Linked DNA regions of Homo sapiens: regions 1, 2, 3, 4, 5 and 7 are each linked to region 6. Evidence: promoter capture Hi-C in 16 types of primary human blood cells and fetal thymus (Javierre and others, 2016). All regions are on one chromosome and are shown on one strand. Each heading gives the region's core, a stretch centred on a gene start or on the middle of the fragment in contact. The rest is flanking DNA. Distances are from core to core; before and after follow the strand shown.

Region 1 (3,557 bases), core at 692-3,191, 770 kb before region 6:
CTGATTGACCCTCATCCTGTGACATGAACCCTGTCGGTGGTTAAACTGGTGAGAGAAATCTTGTCCTTTGTTAAATGCATGGTATCTTTATTAAAGACTTGTTTGCTGAAACTTCAGAAAGTCCAGGGAGCAAAAGCATAGATGAACTTCTAAGTAGCAAGTGTTTTCCTTTTAAAAAGAGCAAAATAAGTATCTAAAACCTGGACTTCAGAACTTTCTTGATGCTATTTTGCAACAGAAAGGTTTGAAGAAATGAACTGGATTGCACAAGGTGACTTAATGAGGCAGTCTCTTCCATAAAGAAAATTTACCTTAACTACTAGATCAACATTCCTTTTGCCTGGAGTGATGTCGAGATCCTTTTACTAAATGTTAAATGCATTCAGGAGTTTCCTAACACATTGCCACCTGCTTAGTTTGGTTTCTGTTGTCTGCCTGATGACTCACAGACAATCTCTCCAGTTACTATAAGGTCCATAGCCCTTTGATCCTAGTCTGCATGTTGCTGATAGCATGGAATATCATTTCTTGTGTTCAATAAGGAAAAATTCAGAGAATTTTAAATTAGTCTTTTTCATTTATTCATTAAACAGTTGTTTGACGTGGTCCTCTGCTTCACTGGTTGTCAACTTTGATTGACTATGGGAATCCCATGGGCAGCAAAAGGCCAATATCTAGGTCTTACCCCAGGGATTCTGATGTACTAATTGGTTTGTGGTGTGGCCTAGCATTGGGATTTTTTAATGTCCTCCAGGGTGATTCTATTGTGCAGACAAGGCTGAGAACCACTGCTCTAAAGCTGATTGTGTTCTTAATTGGGGACACTTCATGCTTACCTTATTACACTACAGGTGTTCTTAAACAGGACAGTGTGGTGGACACTGAAGAAGTTAAAATCTACTTGTTGGATCCTTATTCTTGGAGATTCTGAATCAGTAGGTCTGAGGTCTTTAGGAATAGCTCCTTAGGTGGCAGTTCTGATGACATCCCTTTATGAGACACAGATACAGAATAACCATTTAAATAAACTTTAGAAATCTAGTAAGGGTACAGATAAGATGCCAGTACAGTTTATCAGCAGCCTCCGTTTTCTGCCATCCCTAGGTGCTGCAGTGGAAATACCATATTACAAACTGTTGCTGTTGACTAATGCTAATATTCAATTACTTTTTAAAAAGCCTGGCTTTCCTTAATTTAATTCTGCTTGTGGAAAAACATACTCAACAAACAAGAGTGGGAAAATTAAATGAAAATACCTAGATGTTTGTCAAAAGCCTACAGACGTATCTCTTTCTTTGCACTAAAGTTCAAAGCATGCTTAAGAGTTGTTTGGCCACCTTAGAATTTTGCAGTGTGTGTTTTATCATAAAAAGTGTGAGCCAGTAATTAAAGCTTTACATCATTGTTTACTTATCTTCTTCCTTCTTACCTGAATTAGGGGAGGGGCTTTCAAGTGAATCACTTTCTAAGCCTCTGTGCAAATTAGCAGTGTTGTGTTTCCTTCAGCTTTTCCAAGCCATGCTTAATAATTAGGAAGATAGGCTGATTCAATTTAATATAGCATCTGATTGAAAGCATTTGAAGTTAGATTACTAAATATAGTAAAACTATATTTAGTTAAATAAAGTTAGCCTGTCACTGTTAGGAGGTGGACCTTGCTTTTTATAACTTCTTTCAGAGAGTGAATTGTGTTTCAGGTAGACTAAAATGGTGACCCTAGTGACCTTCACTGTGCCTACTTGTAAGTCTAGATCTCTCCAGAGCTGGGTTGTTCTGGGATCAGAAGATGTGGGATTTCCAGTTAGTTTCACAGCCAACATGGTTCTCCCTCCAGGCTGCCCCCAGGACCTGTGGACTCTGCTCCATCTTCAATGGCCCTTTGTCACCAGCTCTTGGTGTTTTTTTTGGTCCCGTCCCTACTACCCATGTCCCTGTACTTCTCCCTCTCTCCACCATCATGTCTCTCATCAAGACCACCAAAATCACAGACCTTCGTCTCTTAGCGACCTTCATTTCTACTCCTCAGAACTTACTGAACCTTGTTCTTCCCACTTCAGAGACTGCACAATCAGGTATTTTCTTCTCCAACTTTAACTAAACTTGCTTCTCATCATCATGCTGATTTTGAAAATCTGATCTCTTTCCTGTTCTCCAATTCTGTCAGCCTCACCCAAACCTGCTGCTTTTATTTCCCTGCTTAGCCAGAAGCCCTGTGATATGGTTTGGGTGTTTGTCCCCCCAAGTCTCATGTTGAAGTGTGGTTCCTCGTGTTGAAGGTGGGGCCTGGTAGGGGTGGTTGGATTGTGGGGGTGGATTTCTTATGGTTGATTTGATGCTGTCCTCTTGGTGCTGTCCTCATGATAGTGAGCTCTCAGGAAATCTGGTTGTTTAAAGGTGTGTGGTGCCTCCCTCGACCCCCACCTCTTGCTCCCACTCCTGCCATGTGACAGGCCTGCTCCCTGCTAGCCTTCTGCCATGATTGTAAGCTTCCTGAGACCTCACCAGAAACAGATGCCAGTGCCATGCTTCCTGTACAGCCTGCAGAACTGTGAGCCAATTAAACCTCTTTTCTTATAAATTACCCAAACTCAGATATTTCTTTATAGCAATGCAAAAATGGTCTGACACACCCTATGACCAGTCATTGAATATATTCTCCACAGGACCCTTGAGATGCAGTCCCAGGCACAGCCACTCTAACTCGGTTTTTCTCCTGGCAGGCTGCCAATTGCTGTGTGACAGAAACTGCTATAGCCCTGTTGGCTGGCTTTGATACTGATTAATTACTTACAAGCTCTCCTGGCTCCTCTGTCGTGCCTTAGGAATTCTGTGTATTCCTCAGACAACTAGGGATTGATTTCCTTCTTTTCTCCTACAGCTGTTAAAGTTTTTTTTTTTTTTTTTTTTGCTCTTAACCACAACCACACTTCTCCTTTCTTACTCTCAGATATGACCTCATGAACTCCTTCACTTAGAAACTAGAGATGGGAATTCTTGCACTTTTACTCTCCTTCAAGTGTTTCTGTATATTGTTACCTATCTCTCTCCTTCCTTATTCCCAAGGTTAATTGGTTACCTCTACTCTTCCCGTTCCCTTCTGAACTTTTTTCTCTGTTATCTTCACTTCCTCTTATATCTTCTTCTGTCTTTCCTTCTTCGTTGACTCAAGTATCTTCTATTCTGAAAAATACCTTCTCTGCTCTATTTCCCTGCCATTGCACATTTGACTCTTCCTTCTCTTTACTGATGGACTTTCTAAAAGAGATGTACATAGAAAGTTCTACCTCCACTTTTTTTAGCCAACTGCAACTGGGTCATTAGTTGGACTCTACTACCTCAGCTCAACTAATTTTATATGCATCCACTTCTTTTCAGCCCGCATCCTGTCTGCCAAGTTATGATACTACTGATCATTTTTCCTTTGGCTTCCATAATACGCTATCCTAATTTTTCTTCTAATTTTTGGGTTGCTCTTCTTCTGTTTCCTCCACTGGCTTCTTTTCCATCACTGATTCTTTTTTTTATTTTTTATTATTTTTTTTAGAGACAGGGTCTCA
Region 2 (3,534 bases), core at 283-2,782, 810 kb before region 6:
GGGGCTATTTGTCTTCAGCAAGTATGAGACAGTGGTATAGCTGCTCATAGGAATCTCAGAGGTTGGGGTATCAGATGCTGAAGAGTGGCTCAAAGAAATTGGCTGTGAACCCAAGCCCCAGGGGAGCCCAGTTAAGATTCCGTAGGGTCTGGCAGTTGTGGCTGGGAGTTGGGTTTCTGTTAAGATTACTCTTAAACTATTAAATAGTTTTAAGCAGGAGGTGATAGCACCAGATTTACATGTTGAAAACTTGCTCTGGCTGTTGAATGGAAGATGGATTATACAGGGATCAGATGGGAACTAGTGGGGCCTGTTCAGGAGACTCATCCACATTCCAGTAGTAGATGTGGGCGGCTTGGCTTTGGATTCACTAGGTGTGAGAAAATATCTTCCCTTTGCTAAGCACCTGATGCTTGCTTATTTAATTCAGTAGAGTTAGTAGCTTTAGTATTATTATAGTTAGCCTTCTGTATCTGCGGGTTCTAGATCTGCAGATTCAATGAACTGCAAATTGTAAATATTTGAACAAAAAATATAAAAAATAATACAAAATAAAAAATACAGTCTAATAATTACACAACATTGTCATTGTATTAGGTATAAGTAATCTAGAGATGATGTAAAGTATACAGGTGGATATGTGTAGGTTACATGCAAATATTACAGCATTTCATATAGGAACTTGAGCATCCACAGATTTTAGTATCTGCAGAGGGTCCTGGAGCCAATCCCCCATGGAAACCAAGGATTATCTGTTCTCTTTTCTCATCTGAGGACCACTTATTGAAGTTCAGGGTGGATGAGTTTTCTAAAGTAACTTATTGAATGGTTCAAACCCAGGTTTGTCTAACCTCAAAGCTTACCTTTCTTTTCCCTCCACAGTTAGAAAAACAAGAAGAAAAGTTGAGATTGTCTAATTAATAGGCAAATAGAAATTTTTTTGAACCTTTAAGTGGTTGTTAGACCACGTTCTCCTGTAGTCAGCCTTTTCCTGGCAGTACAATAATTTTTGTAAGTTAATATAGAAGTACTGATTCAGTAAAAGGGGTTGGCCATTTGAATATTTTGAGGACTTTAAATATAGATTTGACAGTGTAGGTATCATGCCCAAAGAAGTGGCTTAAAAAGATAAATTCAAGGAAAGAACCCCTAAACAATGATTTCTAAGGTTTTAGTAGAAGGACAGTGCTGAAAAGTTGTGTTCATTTAATTATATTAAAAACGAATGGGACGTAGGGAATGGAAGATGAATTCATACTCTGGATAATTGAATAAATATAATTTTCCTTATGATTCTAATTAATTTTGCTTCCAAGTGCCTAATGGACAATGCATGGCAAAGTAGATGCCTATCATTATAATAGCATTAAAAATATTAAATATTATTGAATATTAAAATATTGAGTGATGCTGGACACGGTGGCTCATGCCTGTAATCCCAGCACTTTGAGAGGCCAAGGAGGGCGGATCATGAGATCAGGAGATCGAGACCATCCTGGCCAACATGGTGAAACCCCGTCTCTACTAAAAATAGGAAAATTAGCTGGACGTGGTGGCACTCACCTGTAATCCCAAGCTACTCAGGAGGCTGAGGCAGGAGAATCGCTTGAACCCAGGAGGTGGGCAGAGGTTGCAGCGAGCCGAGATCGTGCCACTGCCCTCCAGCCTCATGACAGAGTGAGACTCTACCTCAAAAAAAAAAAAAAAAAGGTTGAGTGATAGTTGATATAATCTTATATAATGTAGACTAAAACTTCTTCAGTTTAAACATGTCGCATTGCCAATCTGGACAATATTGTGAGGCCTGGCTAAAAAATGGATGTTGTTTATTGTTTTGCATCAGTTGCTGGCTCTGTTGAGACAGAGTGGTAAGAGAGAAACTTGGATTTGGAATGTTTACTCCTTTGGGGAATCTCAGAGTTACCATTCTGGGTTACAGTATTTGCAGTAAGAAGTCACAGGAGTTAGTCCTGGTAATGCAGGTGACAGCAGGCGGAGACACCAAGAGTACAGACAAGGCCTGAATGCAAGGCATCTGTAGAAGCTGATGGCAGACTGCAGCCCCTGGGGCTTCCTGGTGTGTGGGGCCCCATTATGCAAATGCTTAGAGGAAGTTGTGTGCCTGGAACATAGCAGATATTCAATTAAAATATACATTATATGTCAATTACAAAATATATAAAACAAAATACAAATCTGAAGCTTACTGTATTTCCTTTTATAACTCATTGAATCCTCTTAGTACCCAATGAAATAGGTACTACTATGATCCTCATTTTACAAATGACAAATTAAGATGCACAGAGGTTAAGCAACTTGCCCAAGCTCCTACAAATAGTAAGTTGTATGGCTGGGATTTGATTCCAGAAAGTCTTAACACTGAAAGCTGTTAGATTTGCTCTTAATGTCTCCCAGAACTGCTTCTCAATAAATATTTGTGGATTATTGAATTGAGTGTCTAATGCTGTGACTTTTTACGGTAGAAATACTGTGTTTGCCTATGCAAGGGGTTTGGGAAGCAAAGCTGTTGAAAGCTTTTTTGGCATCTCTTTTATTGTCTATAATATTGTTAGAATGACCACGTCTGCTCTTAAAAATAGCAGTACCGGAAATCCACCCTCTCCTGCACATTCTCTCTTTTTTTTTTTTTTCTTCATAGGACTTGTCACCATCTAAGTTGATTTTATTTGTTGTTTTGTGTGCCACTACCACTGGAGTGTAGGCTCCATAAGAGCAGGGACTTTGCTCTCACTGTTCCGTCCCCAGCATGGGACATGGCTGGGCACAAAATGTGTGGTCAATGCAAATATGAAATTGTTTAATTAATGAAGAGAATTAATACAAAGTTCATTGGTGCTTCAGCTTGGGCATCTAAAATCCTTGAGCCTTTCAAAGGAATTGCCGATCTATGCTACACTTGCCACCCTGGGGCATCAGTGGTTTAGGGAGTTACAATGCCTGGGCTGAGTTCTTCTAGTTGTTAATGACGTATGGAAAATTCTTTTGCTTGAAGTTAATGAGACAGGCCTCTTACTTCCTTGCAAAATATGCTGTAGGCTTTCCAGAATCCCGTGTGCTCTTGCAAGTCTCATCTACTCCTTACAAATCTGAATTTGATAGGTTTCTGCCATGCATGAGAAGCTGGTGCCTATATTCAGTTTTTATTGCCCATATGCCTTATTGTAGGTACTTGTATTGAGGGAAAAACCTTATATGTCCAGGTAGGCTACAGAGTCAAAGAGGCTTGTCCAAAGTGTTATTTGTAGTAGGTGAGTGACACTGCATCTGCGTGTTTTTCTTTTTTATTGGCCTTTGGTAGTCAGACTTTTATGATTTGTTGAATTATAAAATACATGTAAACTGTAAACCTGCTTTACTCAGTTTGTTTGACTTCATTTGCACTTGCTCATAATGATTGAGTTTGGCCCCCACGTCCAAAAGACTTGAGTTCAAATTGTGGTTCTGTCACATTCTCTCAACCACTGTATCAATTAGGACTGGAATTGGTTGGAATATAGTGGCTTTGACAGTTTC
Region 3 (3,838 bases), core at 554-3,053, 830 kb before region 6:
TGAATAGTTTCTATATTATCCCAATAGGTGATGATCTCATAAGAAGCAGGCAAGAAAGCAAGTGCCCAAACACTTTTTTGGGATTTGCTTCCCTCTGTAGTTGGCACATCTTTATGCCAGTCTTAGGGACCAGAATGAGGGAGCAATTACACTGGATGGAGCTGCAAATCAACTTCCACCAACACCACATGGGGAGTTGGGAAGCAATAATCTGCAGAGAAGCTCCTAGCTGAACCCTGATTTGCACCAGTTAGACTTCCCCAAACTAAACTGTCTATACCTCCTATACCTTGGGCTCAAACACTCATCTTCTTTTAAGTATGTAATGCCTCATCCCCAATTTGTTGCTATTGATTCTTTATATGCTGTTTTCCCATCTGGAAAGTTCCCCTCACAAATCCTCCAAGATAAATTTTTTCTTTCTTGGAGAGTTCTATTAGAACTCCAGAAACTTTGGCAAACCCTCACTGAGTTCTCATCCCTTAAACACTTTAGTAACTCCTCTGGCACCAGGTTGACTGTGTGCACATTTGTATCGGGAAGGGCTTTGTCTATTCGCCTTTCTTTGTCCTGTTATTTCTAATAAGCGGAAGTTTCTCCGTGGTAGACTCTAGGCCTGCTTTATTTTCTTGTCACACTGATCCCAAGATCTTGTCACTTCCATAGTAGTATAGGGAAGAAATAGATATTCCAGGGTTATGGAAGGAAAGTCCTTAGCTCTGTTACTTAATGTGTGATCTTGGGAAGGGTATTTTATCTGTGATTTTTGCTGTGAGATTTCAGCATGGTGATCATGAGGCCTAATGGATTTGTTGATTTTTCTCCTTCACTTGGAGCTGACTGTGTCAGGAAGTACTAACAAGTATGCTCAGGCAGTGACATATTGACACAATGAGGCTGGCTGTAAATAGTGAGGTCTATGCTCTAAGCAACCAATCAATCTTTAGTGGTGCCAGGGCTACATGCAAGGTGTCAAGCCAGGCTGTTGAGGGAGATTCAGACACACGTGTGTGGCAGAAAAGGAGATTCACAATTCAAGAAAGGACTTGCTGCCCAATTGCAATGAGTGTGATTCACTAATGGCCTCCATCTATCTATTAACTCTTTTAGCTCTTCCAACACCTTTATTTTAGTTCCATAAGGCTCATAACTGGCTTGCAGAATAGGAAATTAATACAATCAGCAATGTAGAAATGTATCTAAGAGATTAAATGAACTTGCTGGGGTTGGTATTGAGAGGGATTTACACAGCTTCTTGATATTTGGTGCTTGAATGGTGGTTGCTTGTGAGATCTAGTTATCTTTCCCTCGTATATTTACCATTTTCAGTGGATGTCTTATCTTGCTTTAAAACCCCAAGACCCAGCAAAGCCCTTTTTGGAAAAGGTGAGTGACCCTTAATCATGGTAGGGATTAGTTGAACTCTATCCCCTGGCTGAGTAAACAGGAGCCTGGAAGGAACAGGTGACCTGTCCAAGCTCATCTAGTTAAGTAGTTACAAATCTTCATCTTGACTGCCAGGACTGATCTTTGAAAAATAGACATACAAGGCCTTAAGATCTACCTGCAGGAGAGAAAACAGGTTTAAACTGACATGGAGATATTTTAGATTAAAAACTTCAGACTTAGCTATTTCAGTGAGGGGTTCCTCTAGTTTGAGTTGCAAGTAGGTCACCATGCTAAGAGCAGAAAACCCTACTCTAATTCCAACCTCTGACCTCATTCAATAATCATTGGCTTGATTCCATTTATGAATCAAGCTCTGTTAGCGGCTTCATGTGGGGACACCCTGTTCTGATGAAGTTCATCTTCTGGGACACAGTGATACTTCATTTAGGTTTAGGAAGCAGAGAAGAGGACTGGGGTAAATCAGAGGTGGGTGTCAAGGTATCCACTGGAGAGAAAGGGAAAAAGGACTCAGAAGAGAATTTTAAAGTCACAGGAGTTATTGGATGTGGTAAGTGAGAAAAAGTGCCTGATGACCTCTGCAGAGCTGACCACTTTTTCTGAAAAAGAAGTGTCCATGATTTAAGAGTCATTATAATGAAAGATACCATCTTTCAGCTATTAAGGAATAATATTAAGGCAAAGATGAGACAAGATAATCATTCCCTACTTTGGAGCTGGGGGGTAGAAGGAAGAAGACTACATAAGCTAGGTCAAAACTGAGTATTAAAAGTGCTCAGCTGGGCGTGATAGCTCACGCCTGTAATCCCAGCACTTTGGGAGGCTGAGGCAGGCGGATCACGAGGTCAGGAGATCAAGACCATCCTGGCCAACATGGTGAAACCCCGTCTCTACTAAAAAAAGATACAAAATTAGCTGGGTGTGGTCACGTGTGCCTGTAGTCCCAGCTACTCAGGAGGCTGAGGGAGGAGAATCACTTGAACCCGGGAGGCGGAAGTTGCAGTGAGCCAAGATTGTGCCACTGCACTCCAGCCTGGCAACAGAGCGAGACTCCATCTCAAAAAAAAAAAAAAAAAAAGAAAAGAAGTGCTCATACTCTTTGTACCAGTAATTCTATTACTAGAAATTATTCTTAGGATAATAAGATGTGGATAGTTTTATAAGCAAACATTCACTGTAATATTTATAATAGTAGTAACTAATAAAGGATTTGTTAACACAGTAGTACATTTTTACAATAGTTTTATGTATCCATTAAAGATTTATGAAAAGTTTCAGTGAGATAGTGTATGCATGATACAAAACTAGTGAAGGCAGTATTCTCCTTGGAAACAACAAAAGAATAGCTGGAAATAACCACTAATATGTTGATTTTTCTGGAAAGTTGGGAGACCAAGTTGCAAAAATGCATTTCTGTTTTCATTCCTTGCAAGTGACAGTTTAACAAAAAATTTTCCTCCAAATTTGGCTAGCCAGCAGCCTTTATGGAATTTTAGAGTATGGACTGTCAAAATAATTTCTCTTTGCTTTTGACAAGCAACAGTGATGGCCTCTGTATTAGTCTGTTTTCACGCTGTTGATAAAGACATACCTGAACCTGGGCAATTTAGAAAAGAAAGAGGTTTAATGGACTTACAGTTCCACATGGCTGGGGATGCCTCATGATCATGGCAGAAGGTGAAGCAGGAGCAAAGACATGTCTTACATGGCGGCAGGCAAGAGAGAATGAGAGCTTGTGCAGGGAAATTCCTCCTAATAAAACCATCAGATCTCATGAGACTTACCACTATCATGAGGACAGCATGGGAAAGACTCGCCCCCTTGACTCAACTTCCTCCCACCGGGTCCCTCCCACAACACGTGGGAATTCAAGATGAGATCTGGGTGGGGTCACAGCCAAACCGTATCAGCCTCTTTCCTCAAAACCTATGCACTAATGCAATTGCCTCATGAGTTTACATGTTTCTTCCGCATCTGGAAGAGGGTCATTCTTTTCACTGACAGCAAGGGCAGAACTAGGTTAATGAGATCATGTCTTGTTCTGGATTGCAGTCTGTTACTTGGCATACAGTATGGTAGGTTGATTAAATGCATTCTAACTTCTCTACACTCTTTTAAAAAGCATGTATTGAGGTGATTACCTCAATAGGTGCTACCAACCCTATCAGCTATGACTGCAGCTTCATGTAGTGGGTAGTGTATTATCTGTTCATACCAATTCAGTCAAGTTAGCCTCTTTCCTCTGTAGGGGCGGACTCACTGACATCTCAGAAAACATCTAATTGAAAAAATGTGCTCCATATGGAGTTCAAAATCTACAGGTTGTTGTTGTTGTTTTATAAGGACTCTTTCCTAAAATGCAATATGTGATTTTTTAATACATTACACTGACTACAAGGTTTTCATTGATGCCAGTCACAATGAATGTGCA
Region 4 (3,980 bases), core at 850-3,349, 920 kb before region 6:
TTAGGAGTCCTGTGATCAGGGCCTCAGGGTCAGTCCCATCACCCCAGTGCCCTCCTCAGTGCTTCTGGCTGCAGAAGCTTGGTCAAAGGGAACCCCAGAGGGAATCCTACCCATAGCAGACACCTCTGCTAGTGAAAAGAGATACAAAAGGAACCTGGTGAGAAACTCCTAGAGCCCTTTAGTTCCTCTCCAATATAGCTGCCCATATACATTTAATCAGACATGAGGAGAGTTTAAAAACACAGCACTGAAAGGAAAGTGGAGCCTTGGATCTAGCTCTCCTCATGGGAGCTCTCCTGAGGCTCAAGGCAAAAGGCTGGGACCCACGGCCTGGGGCTTCCCTGGTGAGGCTCCTCAGATTCCTACCCTGTCTTTCCTCCCTGGTTGCCTGGGAACTGACCAGCTTGCTTATGGCCACTTTCCTTTCCACTCAGCCTCTTCTGACAAAGGGCACCCCCTAGACTGCATCCAGCACCAGATCCCAAGGAGATTCCTTTACGGCATCATGGCGTGATTCAGAAAAGGGAAACGGAGAAACAGAGAAGTAGGTGAAGAAAGTAGGAAAAAGAAAATAAGGGGAAGAATGAGGCTAAAGTCAAAAGAAAGGCCAAGAACTTATTCATGGCTGGGGTGTCACATGTGGTCATCACCATCATATATTTCCTGATTTAAAAATTATCTAAAAGGGCTGGGCACGGTGGCTCACCCCTGTAATCCCAGCACTTTGGGAGGCCAAGGCGGGCAGATCACCTGAGTTCCAGAGTTCAAAACCAGCCTGGCCAACATGGTGAAAACCCGTCTCTACTAAAAATACAAAAATTAGGCAGGTGTGGTGGCACATGCCTGTAATTCCAGCTACTTGGGAGGCTGAGGCAGGAGAATTGCTTGAACCCGGGAGGCAGAGGTTGCAGTGAGCCAAGATCGCACCATTGCACTCCAGCCTGGGCAACAAGAGTGAAACTCCATCTCAAAAACAAAAAAAAAAAGAAAAAAAAATTATCTAAACGTACTTAGGAAAGAATTGAAGGATTATATCCTGAAAAGATTCACTGTTTTGTTGTGGAAATTTGGCCTTTAAGGGCTTTTGTTTCCTGTGAAAATGCATGAGCTATAAGAGTAGAAAGTTTACAGACCAAGTAAGAGATCTTCAGAGTTATTTAGGTTTTAATAAGCTTGCCTCATTCCATATATATTTTTCCAAGGGCAGTCAATCATCTAGACACGTAATGTTAATAAATGAAGTGACATTTGTATTGTCTATGTAGAAGTGACTGTTGCTTACACAAAGCTTTCTTCCAAAGAGTGTAACATTCCCATGGAACGCCCTAACAGGCAGACAGATCTTTTAATTGTTCTCAGAAAGTGCTTCCAGACTTGTAACCTCAGAGAGTGTCTTGCTTACAAGTAGTCTGAGAACAAGTTCTTACATGTTCTAGAAAGGAAGGCCCTGAAAACATAGAAGCAGCCTGTTTTCAAAAAAGGGGAAGAAAAACAGATGTCCGGTTGATTGGACAAATTAGTCCTAGGTAGAAAAAAGAATGTGAAATGCACAATAATTTGAGGGGTGAAAGGCAGTTGTCAGATGGAGAAGGTAATAATGAATGATAATTACTGTGTATTTACTTTCTGGAAGGAGAATGTAGGAAATGTTAGAGCTCAATCACTTAAAAATTCATTGGTTTTTCACCACTATTCTTGACAAAATAAAACGTCAAAATTCACACAACAGCATAGAAAAATAGATGAAACATAGGCAGATAGAAGTTGTGAGTGCCTCGTTCTATCTTGAATGTCTAGAGGCATCTGGATGTTTTAAAGATACCTTTACAAAAAAGTAAACCTTAAAAGAACTACCTAGGCTCTTTTTTCATAACAAAATAAAGGGGATTGCGTAAAAGATTATTGCTTAGAGATCTGGAAGAATTCCAAGAACATTCATATTCCTAAAATAAAAGCCAGCCCAATTTAAAAGTTTTATGAAAAGCTTAACTGGGGTTGTTTCTAAATTAAATCCAAGAACACTCTCAAGTTGATTTTGTCTATTTAGAATTGCCTAAAATAAAGGAAAAGTGTGAAAAACATATATTAGGAAAACTGCCAGACTTAAGTTTTCGCTTCTATCAAAAGGATTATACTGAAGGAAAGAGTCTTTGCTTCTTTATGCATGAAGAATATGTTCTGAAAATAAAGATATCGGCTATCCAAGCAAGCTTTAAAATTGCTCTTTTGTGAGATCCCATGGTATGTGGTGTAAGTACAAATACATTAGAGGTGTGTATTAATTATTGATGGCTGCCTAAAAATTTACCCCCAAATTTAAGAGCTTAAAACAACGTTTATTACCTCACACTGTTTCTAGGGTCAGGGTCAGGGTCAGGAATCCAGGAGTGGCTTAGTTGGGTGGTTCTGCCTCCCGAGATTATCATCAAGCTGTCACCTAGGGCTGAAGTCTTCTGAGGCTTGACTGGGGCTGGAGAATCTCCTCCCAAGCTTATTCACGTGATTGACAACAGGTCTCAGGTCCTCATTACCTGAGATTCTCATTGCATGGTGGTTGGCTTCCCTTTGAGTGAGTGATGAGAGATGGTAGCCACAATGTCTTTTATAACCTAATCTCAGAAGTGACATATCATTACTTCTGCCATATTCTGTCACACAGATAAATTCTGGTACAATGTGGGAGGGGAATTATACAAGGGTATGAATACCAGGAGGAGACAATCTTGAGGGCTGGCTACCATAGTCTGCCTTCTAGGCTCCAGTGAATCAAGTCCCTCCAACATGCAAAACACGTCCACTCCATCTCAACATTTCTAAAATTCTTGTCTCATTACAGCATCAACTCAAAGTCTAGAGTCTTGTCATTTAAATCAGGACCAGGTACACAAGAGGTTCCTTAGGTATAATTTCTTAACTCTAGCTCCTTGGGTATAATTCCTCTCAATCTGAAACTAACACGCACACACATAGACACACACACACACACACACACACCCCAAACACACAATGGTGGAACAGGAATAAACACTATATGCATTAATATTCAAAAAGGAAAGGTACTGGACACACTACTATGTCCCCATAGCAGCTCTGAAATCCAGCCAGGCAAATGTTGGAATCGCCTTAGGATTTAGTCCTATTTCTACGCATGAGTTATTCTCTGAGGCTTTTAGCTTCCCCTTCAGAGTCATCCTTTTTTAAAAAGAGACAGAGTCTTGCTATGTTGCCCAGGCTGATTCAAACTCCTGGGCTCAAGTGGTCTTCCCACCTTGTCCTCCCAAAGTGCTGGGGTTACAGGAGTGAGTCACCATGCTTAGCTATTCTTTCTTTTTCATGAAAGTTAGTACATGTATGCAGCTGAAATTTTTTCTTAACCTGCAGTGAAACAGGGGCAAAGTGAGTACCAAGGCCTTTTTTCATTTCATACTGTCTCTATCCCTTTGAGTTCTAGTTGGCAATGTTTCTACTAATATAATTCTTTTAAAAAATTTGTGAATCACCTATGAATTTTTGGGGGTCCATTCCATTAGACAAAAGTCACGCCCAAAAATCTTTTTGAGATAATCCCTTTCCCACCTTGTGATTCTGCTGAAAAACTATGCTCTTAAGCTTCTCAGGAGCCCTGTTTTTGAAAGAATCTGTGAGTCACAGCCTTAAAAACTTTAGAGGGCCTTTGTGTGACCAAACTGGTACTCTGAGGCACCACTTTTGATCTTTCTGAGGTCATAACAAAGGATTTATAGTCACATCTCAGCTTCATCTTTGGATTATGTTTTCATGATGGTGCCCAGGATTTGACCTCTGTCCTTCAGCCATTTCTTAATTTAGCATTTTTCACCATCTGTAAAAGCTGAGAATCTTTATGTCTTTATGAATAGCAAATTAGATCACCCAGTTTACCAGGTACATTCCCACCACCCACATTATTGCAGACAACAATATTGCTAAGATTTATGCCACTCCATAGTAAGGATTCCCTG
Region 5 (3,775 bases), core at 763-3,262, 940 kb before region 6:
GCCTAAAACTTGGTGTTCCAGGAAGAAAGGTACCATAATGCTCACTAGAGCTCCCCAAACCTACACGAATGATCCAGTTCAACACAGGATACTCACACTCACCATGACGCCTGCTGCTTTTCACTTAAAACTTAGAGAAGAGTTAATCACTAGAAGATCATTCATTCAGCTTGCTAAAAGTTGATTTCTCCTGCATCTCTGATCTATATTTGGAGAGTACTAAGAGCACCAAAGTATTGGAGCCACGAAAGAGAAACAAATTTTATGACTTGGTTCAGTGAAGTTGCTAAAGCCATGTTAGTTTTTTGACTGTAACCCAAACATCCCAGACCTCCTATTTTCAAACCTCATGCCCAAGCTGTCTAGTTTGTCTTTAGCCCCACTTTGCCGGATTATTGGCCACCACCTACCCATAGGTGACTTGAGTCTTGAGCAAACCCAATACCCCTTAGGCTTTGGCTTTCCCAGAAATAACCCTGGACATGCAGGGTGGTGTCAGGCACGATTCCTCTTGATGTTATCCTCTGCTCTTCCTGCTGATGTCTGCTGCTCCTAGCTCTTCAGCGAGGCTGCCCCCACTTCCTGAGCACTCCTGGGTTCCACAGCTGCAAATCCCTCCACATGCTGAAGGGGCCATGTGACTTCTGGCCTTATTTCTCCCCAAACACTATATACATGGCATACCACAGAAATAGAGAAAACATCTCTCCAGCTGCTCAGAGGTGACATTTGGCCCTATAAAACTGGAGAAGGCACTGCTTTGTACCCCAGAGTCTCAACAGCTCTTTCAACCACTGCCTAACACCCCTAAATCCAGAAATCAGACCTAGTTTCTGAGGTTGAGCCAGAAAAAAGGGAAATGAAGAAGGTAGTGGTCTTACCACCGTCTTTCCCCTCCAGAGAAATTTCTTCTTTCCCTTTCTTCATGCAAATCACCTATATAATTTGAAGCTATGGGACCAGCAATAACACAACCAGAAGCATAGTGAAGCACAGTGGAGGAATTATACCCCTGCCCACATGGTTCAAAAACAATTTCTTCTCAATGGAAAGAAAAGTCAATTTTTTCTTTTTTTTTCTTTCTTTTCTTTTTTTTTTTTTTGAGATGGAGTCTAGCTCTGTTGGCCAGGCTGGAGTGCAGTGGCATGACCTCAGCTTGCTGCAACCTCTACCTCTCGGGTTCAAGCCATTCTCCCATTCCCCTGCCTCAGCTTCCTGAGTAGCTGGGATTACAGGTGTGTTCCACCATGTCCAGCTAATTTTTGTATTTTTAGTATAGACGGGGTTTCACCATGTTGGCCAGGCTGGTCTCGAACTCCTGACCTCAAGTGATCCACCCACCTTGGACTCCCAAAGTGCTGGTATTACAGACGTGAACCACCGTGTCTGGTCCCCAATATTTTTTGCTTTTGAGGACTCAAAGAGGCTGTTTCCAATAGTTTTTGGAGAAAGGGTGGTTTTTTTGTGGGCATGTCAGCCTGATTTTTCTGTTGATGCCATCCTGCTGCAGGCTGTTGATTCAGAACATTGGATATTCTGTGGCTGATGAGCCAAGTGCCCACTGTGAAGGAGATGATAAACTCATATACAGTGACAGCAACTCAGGATTCTCTTATCAATTCCCTTCCTATCATATAAACCAAGAGAAGTGGCCTATGGGAAAAGTGAGCAGGAAAAACACAATTTAATTTTCAAAGCTTCAAAAGATTAACATGCTACATATTTTTAAAATCCACAACATTAGAAAAAGATATCTGCTTATGCTTCTTGGAAAGAAAGTAGTAACTAAGGTTGACAGTGCCCAGCCTAGAAGTCAGCTGCAGGCAATTCTCTCAAACGCTGACTGGTTTTTGCTTCTCTCTGGGCAAGGGAGCACCAGAGGCTGGCGATACATAGCAGCTTATAAGAAAGGGGAGGCTTTGTGTTAGCCCATCCAATACATGGGCATGGATAGAAAATACCTGGGAAGAAAAGCATGGTGGAAAAGAAATAGATACTAATAGCCCATTAAATCCTTTCTAGTGGTATCTGAAGTGAGTGGAGGCCAAAAAGAGAAACATGACATAAGGGGAAGCCCCTTTGCTGGGGCTCTCAGAAGGCACCAGGCTTCCTAGGATTCTCAGGAAGAGAAGCTCATTAACAGTGTCAGATATCCCAGCTGTAACTTCTAGACATGAGCATCCTCCAACACTGAAGGGTTAAAGGTAAGCAGCCCAATCACTTGTTATCCTGCAATTTCTGTAAACAAAAGCTGATTTTTCTAAAACTTAATGCTAATTTCTACCAAGAAGACAGGAAATATAGCTGACCTCCAAATCTGAAGCTTACCACCTTGCCGTTTCTTATTATGTCTTGTATTATGGCTTCCTATTTCTTTTACACTTCAGTTGGAACTCTGTAAGAGAATGATGTCTTCCGAGTGGCTAAAAATAATTTTGTAGTAATAATAACAGTAGCTAGCTTCTAAGTGCTTAATGTGTTGCTGGCCATATATGAAACTCTTCATTTGCTGCTCTTAGGCTTTACGACGACCTTTTCCAGAATAGAAAATGGAGGCACAGAAAGTTTAAATAGCTTGCTTGCAGGGAGGAAACGTGCAGGGATGGGAACAGTGAAGCCCTACAGTCCATGCTCCTAACCACTGGGCTACACTGTGAAGTGGCTATTTACCCCCAATCTCCAACTACTCCATATAAGATTAGAGAACTCAGCCAGGTGCACTGGCTCATACCTGTAATCCCAGCATTTTGGGAGGCCAAGGCGGGTGGGTCACTTGAGGTCAGGAGTTTGAGACCAGTCTGGCTAACATGGCAAAATCTCGTCTCTACTTAAAATACAAAAATTAGCGGGGTGTGGTGGTGGGCACCTGTAATCCCAGCTACTCAGGAGGCTGAGGTTGGAGAATGGCTTGAACCCGGGAGGTGAAGGTTGCAGTGAGCCAAGGTCATGCCACTGCACTCCAGCCTGGGTGACAGAGCAAGACTCCATCTAAAAAAAAAAAAAAAAAAAAAGATTAAAGGACTATGCCTGGAAGTGCCATGAAAATGGAGGAAAATGCCAGGCGGTTGGCACAGGCATTTCGTGAAAACTTCTAGAAATAAAATAAGGGGGAATGTATGTTTAAAATACACACACAAAACCAATTTTCAGATGGTAAGAGGTGGTTTGAAATAATCAGTTCTGAGTGTGTATTTTAAACTCATATTCCACCCCTGCCACCCATTTTATTTCCAGAAGTTCCCATGAAACGTGTGTGCCAACTGCACTATCACGGTACTTCTAGGCATAGTCCCCTACTCTTACATGGGGTGGGTGGGGACGTGGAGGTGCAAACAGTGAATCAGGAAAAGCAAAACCTACTGGAGCAAATGCCATCTAGAACTAGTTACTTCCATTTTAGATACATTTGAATGTCATTTCATTTTTTTGTCTTGAACAAAATATATTTATTACCTTATAGTCTAGGATGCAATATGGTCCATTAACCAAGTAATTAAAACCAGTTGTGATGAGTTAAGTAAAGGGGACTCACAAAAAAGCAGATGAAAATGCTTAAGACTGTGATATGGCCAGAAGTGAGCTGTGAGGTACAGTGAACAAATTCAAAACTTATTTTTTTTCTCCAATCCTCCTTTTTTGAATTTGAGAAAAAAATGCTAGAAGGAATAAGAAATGGATCATAGATAATTTGTGTAGGTGAAAATGTAATTTACCTCAAATCATTATTATGAGTAAACACTTCTTTGGGGCAACAATATTGTTTTCTCAGAATGTC
Region 6 (3,865 bases), core at 755-3,254:
GAGAGAGGGAGAAGACAGGGCGCCCCAGCCATATCAATGTCAGTTACCAGTGACCCAGACACAACACGTGCAGCTTGCATTGACTTTTACTAGACTGTTTACTTTTATTCGTCCCATTTCATAACCTGCAGAGACTCGAAGAGCAGATTAAAGAACCTGACAAAAACAGGATGCGACGGATGTTTTTACATGCTGGTTTCATGTAGGCGGGTACAGGAATTATTTGTGACAGGGGTTAAGAAAGTAAGAGAACGAGAGAGAGGAGAGAGGAGAGATGGAGGGGAGAGAGAGGGAGAAGGAAAGAGAAAGAAAGAAAGAAAAGAAAGAAGAGAAAGAAAGAAAAGAAAGAGAAAGAAAGAAAAAAAGGAAGAAAGAAAGAGAGAGAGGAAGAAAGAAAAGAAAGAGAGAGAGAGAGAAACAGATCAAGCAAAAGGCACTTCTGAAAAATGAAAGCAAAAAAGCAACCCGGCCCAGCCCGGAGCTACCCCGCGCGGCCTCCAGGCGCAGCCAGCCCGACGGGCCCGTTTTGCAATCCGCCAGACCGGAGCACGCCCGCGGCCACCGCGATCTTTCGAAATCTCCGAGGGCTGCTTTCCTCCGCGCCCACGTCCGGGCACCAGGCAGAGCCTCTCCTCTAAAGGCGGGCAACCCAGCGCAGTGCCATGCAGACGGCGAGGGGCAGTGCCCAGGAGGGCAGTTTACAACATACTTAAAATGTTAACGCTGAAGCAGGGAAAGTAATGCCTTAAGGTGGGGGGAGGGGGGAGTCTTCCTACCATTTCACGGTTATAAGTACCTATCTCATACCTAGCAAGAAATATTTGCAAGTGATTTCTCCCTCTTCCCCCTTTTTAATGTTCGGATTTGGGTCGAGAAGACTTCTCATGAATCACCAATATGACTTTAACAATCATTGGATCGCAAGCTGCTATTATTATTTTAAACATTCTGCCCAAAGACTAATTGAAATAAACAAATCTATTTTTAAAAGGCAAGCTTCAGAAATTTGCTCTTAACCCATTTCAGAATTTAAGTCAGTTATGGGCTGCTCACTGTTTTACAGAAAGCTAAGGGTCAGAAAGAAGAATGAGGCAGAGGGGAAAAAAACTGTAAAGTGCTCAAAGCACTTTGGGGTAATAATTTGGCTTTTTTTTTTTTTTTTTTTTTTTTGCGAGAATGGGGGATGGGGTTGGAAGAAGCATCCACTAGGCAGAAAGCTACTTCCCTTGAAAATCTTCAGCACCCACATTTCCAAGTTTGGGCAAAGTTTCTGAAACCACGTCCCCCAGCCACCAAATAAAATTCAGTATCTCTCCCCCAAACCCCCAGGTTTTCTTTTCTTTCTTTCCTTTTTTTTTTTTAAGTATCCAAAAGATGTGGGAGGGAGAGAGATGAGACTGCAAATGGGTCGACTGAAATCTCCAGGCTACTACTGATACTTGTTCCCTTCTTCAGAGCCAAACAGAGGAGATCACATCTAAAGTTATCATGGCCAGAACTTGGAGCATTTAACCCTAACTACTAAGACCCCAGCTCGCTCCCTTTCCTTTTTCAAGATAACCGAGCTCCAAACTCAGTTCCCAGTCCTAAAGTGTCATTGCCTACAATTTTCCCACTCCTCTCCATCCCGGAGTCCCCAAGTTGGTTCAACATCTTCCGAGAGCAGCGTTGCTCAGAACAGACCAAGTGGAGACCACAGAAAAGTCGACCCCCCTGTCCTCAGCCAAGCCTCCCCAGCGCATCCCCACTCGCTTACCCTGGGCACTGCGGTCCTCCATGAACTGGCAGAGCAGCAGCAGCAGGAGGCAAAGCCCACCCGGCTGGTGCCTCGCGCGGACCATCCTGGGGGCAGGCGCGGGGCGAGGAGCGCAGCGGCGCGGGGAGCCGGCGCGGCGGCGGGTGGCTCGGGCGAGCGGCGCGCGTCGCAGAGGCCAGCGGCGGAGGGCGCAGCGATCCCGGCGCAGCCCCGCGCTCGCCGCCGGCCGCCCGCGCGATTCAATGGACGTCAGAAGCCGGGCGCAGCCGCGCTTTAAATCTAGACGGGGGTCTCCGCGGTTTGCGGTGGGCGGTCTCCCAGTGTGTGGGGCTGTGGGAGGGCGGCCGCGAGCGAGGGTGTGCGCGGCTCCTTGGGGGTGGGGAGCTTTCAAAAGTTCAGTGTGAATCAGGTGACATTTCCCACCTTCTGGAAACCCTTCCCAATTATCTTTCGGAGGTGCCCGAAATCAAAACGGCTGGAAGGGAATCGTCGAGTTCTTATTTGCGTAGGAGCGAGAGGGAGGGGGAAGGCGACCGGGGCGGGGGTTGGGGGCTACGCGTCGGGGGTGGGGAGTGGGGAAGAACACCCACTTCAAGTCCTGCTCGCCGCCGCTCGCCGGCAGCGCCGGCGCGCCCGGGGTGGCGGGTGTGTGTGTGAGTGTGTGTGTGAGTGTGTGTGCGCGCGCGCGCGAGTGTGAGAGGGAGGGCGCGGTGGGGGCGCTGGAGGCGGTGGCGGGGGGAACCCGGGAGTTTGTCTCCGTGCTGCCTCTCCTCCGCTCCAAAGAGACTTTTGCAAACGGCCGAAGAGCCCCGGGCTGCCCAAATATCCCGCCCCGGGTCGGGTCGGAGCGCGCCGGCCTCGCGGCGGTTCCGGGCACCCGCAGCCTGGGCGCGGGACCCGCGAGGTTTTGTGTCTGGGTCTGTGAGTGCCTGACTTTGCAGCCACCCCCAGCCCAGAGGTGTTGCTAGGAACCCCGGCCCCGGCACCTTCCACCCTGGCAGAGCGCTACCGAGACGCGGCCCTTCGTCTGGACTAGTCGGAAGCAAACAAAAATGTTTAACACCTCAGGCCCGGTCTCCCCGCGGCACAGCCTCGCCCTCTCCCTTTCTTTTCTCCCCTTTCACTTCGCGGCGTCTGGAGTCGGAGCCCGGAGCGGGGGCGCCGACGTAGGCGGTCTGGCCCCCCCTTCCTCTCCCGCCTGGAGACTCCCCAGTTTCTGTCCTGTGTGCCTCTGTCTGTCTCTCAGTCTCCTCGGCTCCAATCTCTCTCTCTTTCTGTCTCGTCTTCTCTCTTTTCGCGGAATAAAAAAGATTGCAACATCCATAATGAACTTCTGTAGCCTCAGTTTATTAAGTACAGTGCCTGGCATTCTTCGCTGAAAGTTGGCGGGTCTCTCATTTATAACATTTTTGGCACCGCTGAATGAAACTGAGGAGGCGATATTTCCTTTTATATAAAACGATTACTTCACGGAAAATGCTATATTGTTTATTCCAAAGCTGCCTTTTAAATTTGTTCTTTTCGCATCTGAAGCCCGAAGGACAACAGATAGCGAAGTATGCAGACAAAATTCTTGGACATTCGCAGGTCACTGGGATTTGTTCTACGAATTTCAAATCTGCCCTTCTTCCCCCCCTGCAACTGCCCTCCCCCCGCCAGACCCTCCCCCAGTCCTCCTCTAGCCCTCCCACCCCCCATCTTCCGTCAACCTTCCCCCCTCCACAACTGCAAATAACTCAGTGATAACAGATTTTTTTCCACCAACTGCAGGAGATAGTGCTAATCTTTTAATAAAAGATCCCATTACAATGGGATCTGTCTGGACAGACTATAATAGATCCCGAAATACAGCCGTGCTAATATTAGAAGACAGTTGTTTGGGTGCCTCTCAGACGGGCCCAAGCCCCCCTTTGAAAGTGGGCATGAATCACAAAGCCCCGCGGCCGCCGCACCTGCACCGCGCGCATTCGGTGCAGCAGGCTGGTAAAAGCGGGTGACCTCGCCGCCGCTTTTCGCTTTATAATTACCGTCATGAGGACGGGAGGGGAGGGGCTCGGGCGGCCCGGGGGAGACTGGATTTTGCTCACTTCAGACGGCTGTGGGGGCTCC
Region 7 (4,069 bases), core at 1,184-3,683, 750 kb before region 6:
AACTCGGCCACTTCCAGTTGAGATTAATAAAGCCAGTTATTCACTTAAAGTACCTGTACCCACCAGGCTGTATGGCTGAGGCTAGATCTATAAAAACTCAAAGCTAGAAAATGCTTCCATAACTATGACAGTATCTCAGCACTTCAGAAATTATAGAATTTGAGAGTTTAAAAAGGAACATAGTTATCCGATCAGACACTATCAGTTGGAAGGAGTAGCTATCTCTGCCAGAGTTTAAAAGTGGCAGAGAGGATTTTATATACCACTTCAGCTTGCATTATCATCAGAGGAATCAGACATTGTGTTCTGGTGATAAAGCCATTTAAAAAATTTTCTTTTCCAGTCTAATGATTTAAAAACCAAATAGCTATATCAAATTTCTTATTGTTACTCAAACCTTTTAATGTCCTAGTTGATGAAATAACAATTCCCATTTCATACAGTTCTTTGAATTAATTATAACTGTAATTTCCTTAAAAATTCCATATTTGATTATTTTGAATTAAAAATGCTCACAGCATCTTAACAGTATAGAAGTATAGTCAAATGCCCTTCCATTATTTTTGCTACTAATGCATATTCCTTGCCAGAAATAACAAATGTTAATACTTTACTATAGCCCGGGGTGGTGGCTCACACCTGTAATCCCAGCACTTTGGGAAGCCAAGACAGGCAGATCATTTGAACCCAGGAGTTCGAGACCAGCCTGGGCAACATGTTGAAGCCCTGTCTCTACAAAAATTATAAAAATTAGCTGGGTGTGGTGGCACATGCCTATATTCCCAGCTACTTGGGAGGCTGAGCCCAGGAGCAAGGCTGCAGTGAGGCATGAGCGAGCCACTGTACTACAGCTTGGGTGACAGAGCGAGACCTTGTCTCAAAAAAAAAAAAAAGGTTTAACTATAGAATTAACGTGCATATGTGCTCATAAACATGGGTACACGTGCGTACATTTTTTAAAACATAAATTAGATCATGCCACCCGTTATTCTGTGACTACATTTTTTAGTTTAACCATATATTTCAGACTTCTTTCCATGTCATTACATTATTTTATCTGATAAGGTTGAGTGTATTTTTACACTGTTTTTCTTATGTCATCCTAGAGAAAGATGCATAGAATTAAATCCTTTTAACATTAACATACAGAGTTAAAAGTATACCCCAAGCATTGGTTCTTATCCTTCAAAGGTCCTTTTTCAGATTTTGTGAAGGCCATTGGAATGCCCAGGTTGTAAGTTGAGTGTAGTTTTAATATTTGGAAATTGAACTAATAATAATCCCAACTTTATCCATGTTAATGCTTCTATGTATTTAAAGTTATAAGTAGTTAATAAGACATAATTTGAACAGATTATTTTGGATAGCCGATGTATAATCAATTCATAGGAATTTAAGAAAGAAGTTTTTTGTGTGTGACCTCAGGTTTACTTTTGCATTTAGTTATGAACTACATTCAAACTAGATTTGGTTTCACATTTTCTTAGCTCTTTTAAAAACATATTATCAAAAAATTAAAATTAATTTCCCTATGCTCATATATTATTATTTTATAATCTGAATTTTCTGGGACGGAGTTGTAATTCTTCTGACAATCCAATAAATTTATTTTGTGTTCTGTGAGCTTACAAGTCCACTAGAGGGTGCATTTTACTCTTTTTTGACACAGACAGAAATTTAAGTCCATAATTTTGTTTCACTTTCACAGAGCTAGTTGGGTTAACAGCTTTGGAAAGCAAAGTCCCTTAAATTCTTAAACATGGACACTAGGAGACTGTTGTACAAAAACATAATTCATTAGTATAAAGCAACCATATCATTATTAAAATAGTGGCCTTACCAGTGGATGCTATTGTAGGATGCAGAAGGGAGCACGGTGGGGTGGGGATGTCTAGGGAAGCTTCATGGGCAAGATGGGATCTGTAGTGTTCAAACACCTGGTGAAGTCAAACTTTTTGGTCTCAGGACCCCTTTACACCATTGATAATTATTAAGGCTCCCAAATAGCTTTTATTAATGTGGGTATTGATATTTAATGTTCTAGCAATTAAAATTTTTTTTTTTTTTACTAATGCATTTAAAAATAACAATAGTAACGGGCCAGGCCTGGTGGCTCAAGCCTGTAATCCCAGCACTTTGGGAGGCTGAAACGGGCGGATCACCTGATGCCAGGAGTTCGAGACCTGGCCAACATGGAGAAACCCCATCTCTACAAAAATAAAAAAATTAGCCGGGCTTGGTGGCACGCGCCTATAATCCCAGCTACTTGGGAAGCTGAGGCAGGACAATTGCTTGAATCAGGGAAGCAGAGGTTGCAGTGAGCTGAGATCTTGCCGTTGTACCAGCCTGGCAACAGAGCGAGACTGTCTCAAAAAATAAATAAAAATAAACCCATTACATGTTAATATGAATAACATTTAAATGAAAAAGAACTATATTTTCCAAAACAAAAATTAGTGAGAAAATGGCATTGTTTTACCTCTTTGCAGATCTTTTTAATGTCTGGGTTAATAGAGGGCAGCTAGAGTCTCATATTTGCCTCTGCATTTAATCTGTTGTGTGTTTTGGTTAAAGTATGTGAAGAAAATTCAACCCCACGCAGCTATGAAGTTGGAAAAGAATATTTTAATAGCCTTTTCTGATAATTGTGAGTAGTCTTCTGTGATTCTATATCTAAACAATCAAATGGTAGTTCCTTAGGGGCTAGTTGCCATGTGGAACCTGAAACCATATCAGTGAACTTATTCTAGTTAGTTATGTTAAAAGCCAGTAGTCTCTCTTGGACCTTGAAAGACTCTTTTGCTCAGGCATGACTTTGTAATATTACACATTGGTCTTGGAAAATATTGGTTCATCTAGTTATGTAAATCTTCCAAATGTTAACACAATATCAGTCTTGTAAATATGTCAAGTTCATGATGGCAGATACAAGTTTTCTAAGAATTTAATTTTCATTTGAAAGCTTGAATTTTATCACTGGCAACAAATACTAACAGTTGTTTTCCTTGAATTGACATGCCCACTTCATTTATTTTTAAGAAAATATCTGTGAAATACCCAAGTTCGAATAATTATAGTTTGCCTGTAAGTCATTTTTTCAAGTAAAAATGGTGTTCCATGAAAAGAGAAGTTAGTTAGGTTCACGAGTACTTTTCCTTGAGACAACCCTTAGACTTTTACATAGAGCAGAAATGTTTTGTATGTATTTCATCACACAGAATAGTAACGTGTCAAGATTTAATAAAATTGATAGTTTACTGCTTCATCAAGGCCATTTTTATGTAAAACACAATGGCAGCTGGTAGAGTTTGGTGCCACCAGCATGATTTGTGCTAAAGGGCCAGCAGTTTCACTCACTCACTCTCTCCATCAATGTTAATGCAAACACAATGCAAGAGGTAAATAATGTCTTAGTATGATGACATTAGTTTTGATCCTGCAGATCCTCTGAAAGGGTCTTGGGGACCCTCAGGAGTCCATGCACACATTGAAAACGGCTGGACTAGGAGAAGCATAGAACTGGGTGTTGTGAAGCCATTGCAAACAAGGATGGTGTATGAGGGCAGGGGTGAACATGAGTGTCAGCCGAACAAGGGGCTGAGGGTAGACTCCAATTGATGGCTCTTGTGGGAATAGAGGAAATCAGAGGAGAAAAGAATGTGTCTTGAAGGCAGAGCAGACCGGAGAGGTCCCTGAACACAAGTTCTGAGAAGCAATTTTGTGGCTTTCCTGGTAGGTGGGCATGCGTCTTTAATTAAGCACCCCTGCCCTTCCCACTCTGCCCTGTTTCTCCCATATTTCTACCTGTTGGTTCTATTTTTACCCCCAAATGCAGCATAAGGCTCTGCTTTCTCCTGTGCAGCCTTTCAAATATGAACTTAGGGTCTTGAGGCCCAGTGGAAGGGAGCTTCGAATGTCAGAACAACTGGAAACTTTTTTCCATAGATAGTAAGGAGCCATTGCTTACTCTGGTCTCTCCTTCCCTTCCTGTTTTTCTGCCTACCTTTTTGAGAATGGCATTTGACAATGATATTTATTGAAAGAGCACTATGTATTAATAGTGCTCTTG

What was found. The method cuts DNA at HindIII sites, captures the fragments that hold promoters and counts their contacts. A CHiCAGO score of 5 or more calls a contact.
Region 1: a fragment that was not itself captured here is called in contact with the fragment with the promoter of FST in region 6 in 3 of 17 cell types (total B cells, naive B cells and total CD8 T cells); the score reaches 8.2 in total B cells.
Region 2: a contact is called between a fragment that was not itself captured here and the fragment with the promoter of FST in region 6, in 1 of 17 cell types (total B cells). The highest score is 7.5, in total B cells.
Region 3: a fragment that was not itself captured here is called in contact with the fragment with the promoter of FST in region 6 in 1 of 17 cell types (total B cells); the score reaches 5.6 in total B cells.
Region 4: a fragment that was not itself captured here is called in contact with the fragment with the promoter of FST in region 6 in 1 of 17 cell types (total B cells); the score reaches 5.1 in total B cells.
Region 5: a fragment that was not itself captured here is called in contact with the fragment with the promoter of FST in region 6 in 1 of 17 cell types (M0 macrophages); the score reaches 6.8 in M0 macrophages.
Region 7: a contact is called between a fragment that was not itself captured here and the fragment with the promoter of FST in region 6, in 16 of 17 cell types (total B cells, erythroblasts, megakaryocytes and 13 more). The highest score is 26.3, in total B cells.

Annotation. Positions count from the first base shown.
Region 1 is chr5:54,249,023-54,252,579 of GRCh38, reverse strand. The region is part of intron 1 of ARL15 (ARF like GTPase 15); the gene reads left to right. Among named protein-coding and RNA genes, the nearest start is that of ARL15, 60 kb to the left of the region's middle. The HindIII fragment of the contact is 1,094 bases long and covers 1,395-2,488 here.
Region 2 is chr5:54,288,480-54,292,013 of GRCh38, reverse strand. All of the region lies in intron 1 of ARL15 (ARF like GTPase 15), which reads left to right. Among named protein-coding and RNA genes, the nearest start is that of ARL15, 20 kb to the left of the region's middle. The HindIII fragment of the contact is 1,344 bases long and covers 861-2,204 here.
Region 3 is chr5:54,312,956-54,316,793 of GRCh38, reverse strand. No RefSeq gene overlaps it. Among named protein-coding and RNA genes, the nearest start is that of ARL15, 4.3 kb to the right of the region's middle. RefSeq lists a cis regulatory region at 3,113-3,460. The HindIII fragment of the contact is 4,389 bases long and covers 1-3,838 here.
Region 4 is chr5:54,402,152-54,406,131 of GRCh38, reverse strand. It overlaps LINC01033 (long intergenic non-protein coding RNA 1033), which reads right to left. Exons shown (of 5, transcript NR_126379.1): 3 at 2,344-2,609. Among named protein-coding and RNA genes, the nearest start is that of HSPB3, 52 kb to the left of the region's middle. The HindIII fragment of the contact is 226 bases long and covers 1,987-2,212 here.
Region 5 is chr5:54,423,550-54,427,324 of GRCh38, reverse strand. No RefSeq gene overlaps it. Among named protein-coding and RNA genes, the nearest start is that of HSPB3, 30 kb to the left of the region's middle. The HindIII fragment of the contact is 626 bases long and covers 1,700-2,325 here.
Region 6 is chr5:53,478,768-53,482,632 of GRCh38, reverse strand. FST (follistatin) reads right to left here and starts at 2,004. Exons shown (of 6, transcript NM_013409.3): 1 at 1,757-2,004. The coding sequence starts at 1,841. RefSeq lists an enhancer at 702-771. The HindIII fragment of the contact is 5,217 bases long and covers 999-3,865 here.
Region 7 is chr5:54,232,320-54,236,388 of GRCh38, reverse strand. All of the region lies in intron 1 of ARL15 (ARF like GTPase 15), which reads left to right. Among named protein-coding and RNA genes, the nearest start is that of ARL15, 76 kb to the left of the region's middle. The HindIII fragment of the contact is 1,062 bases long and covers 1,903-2,964 here.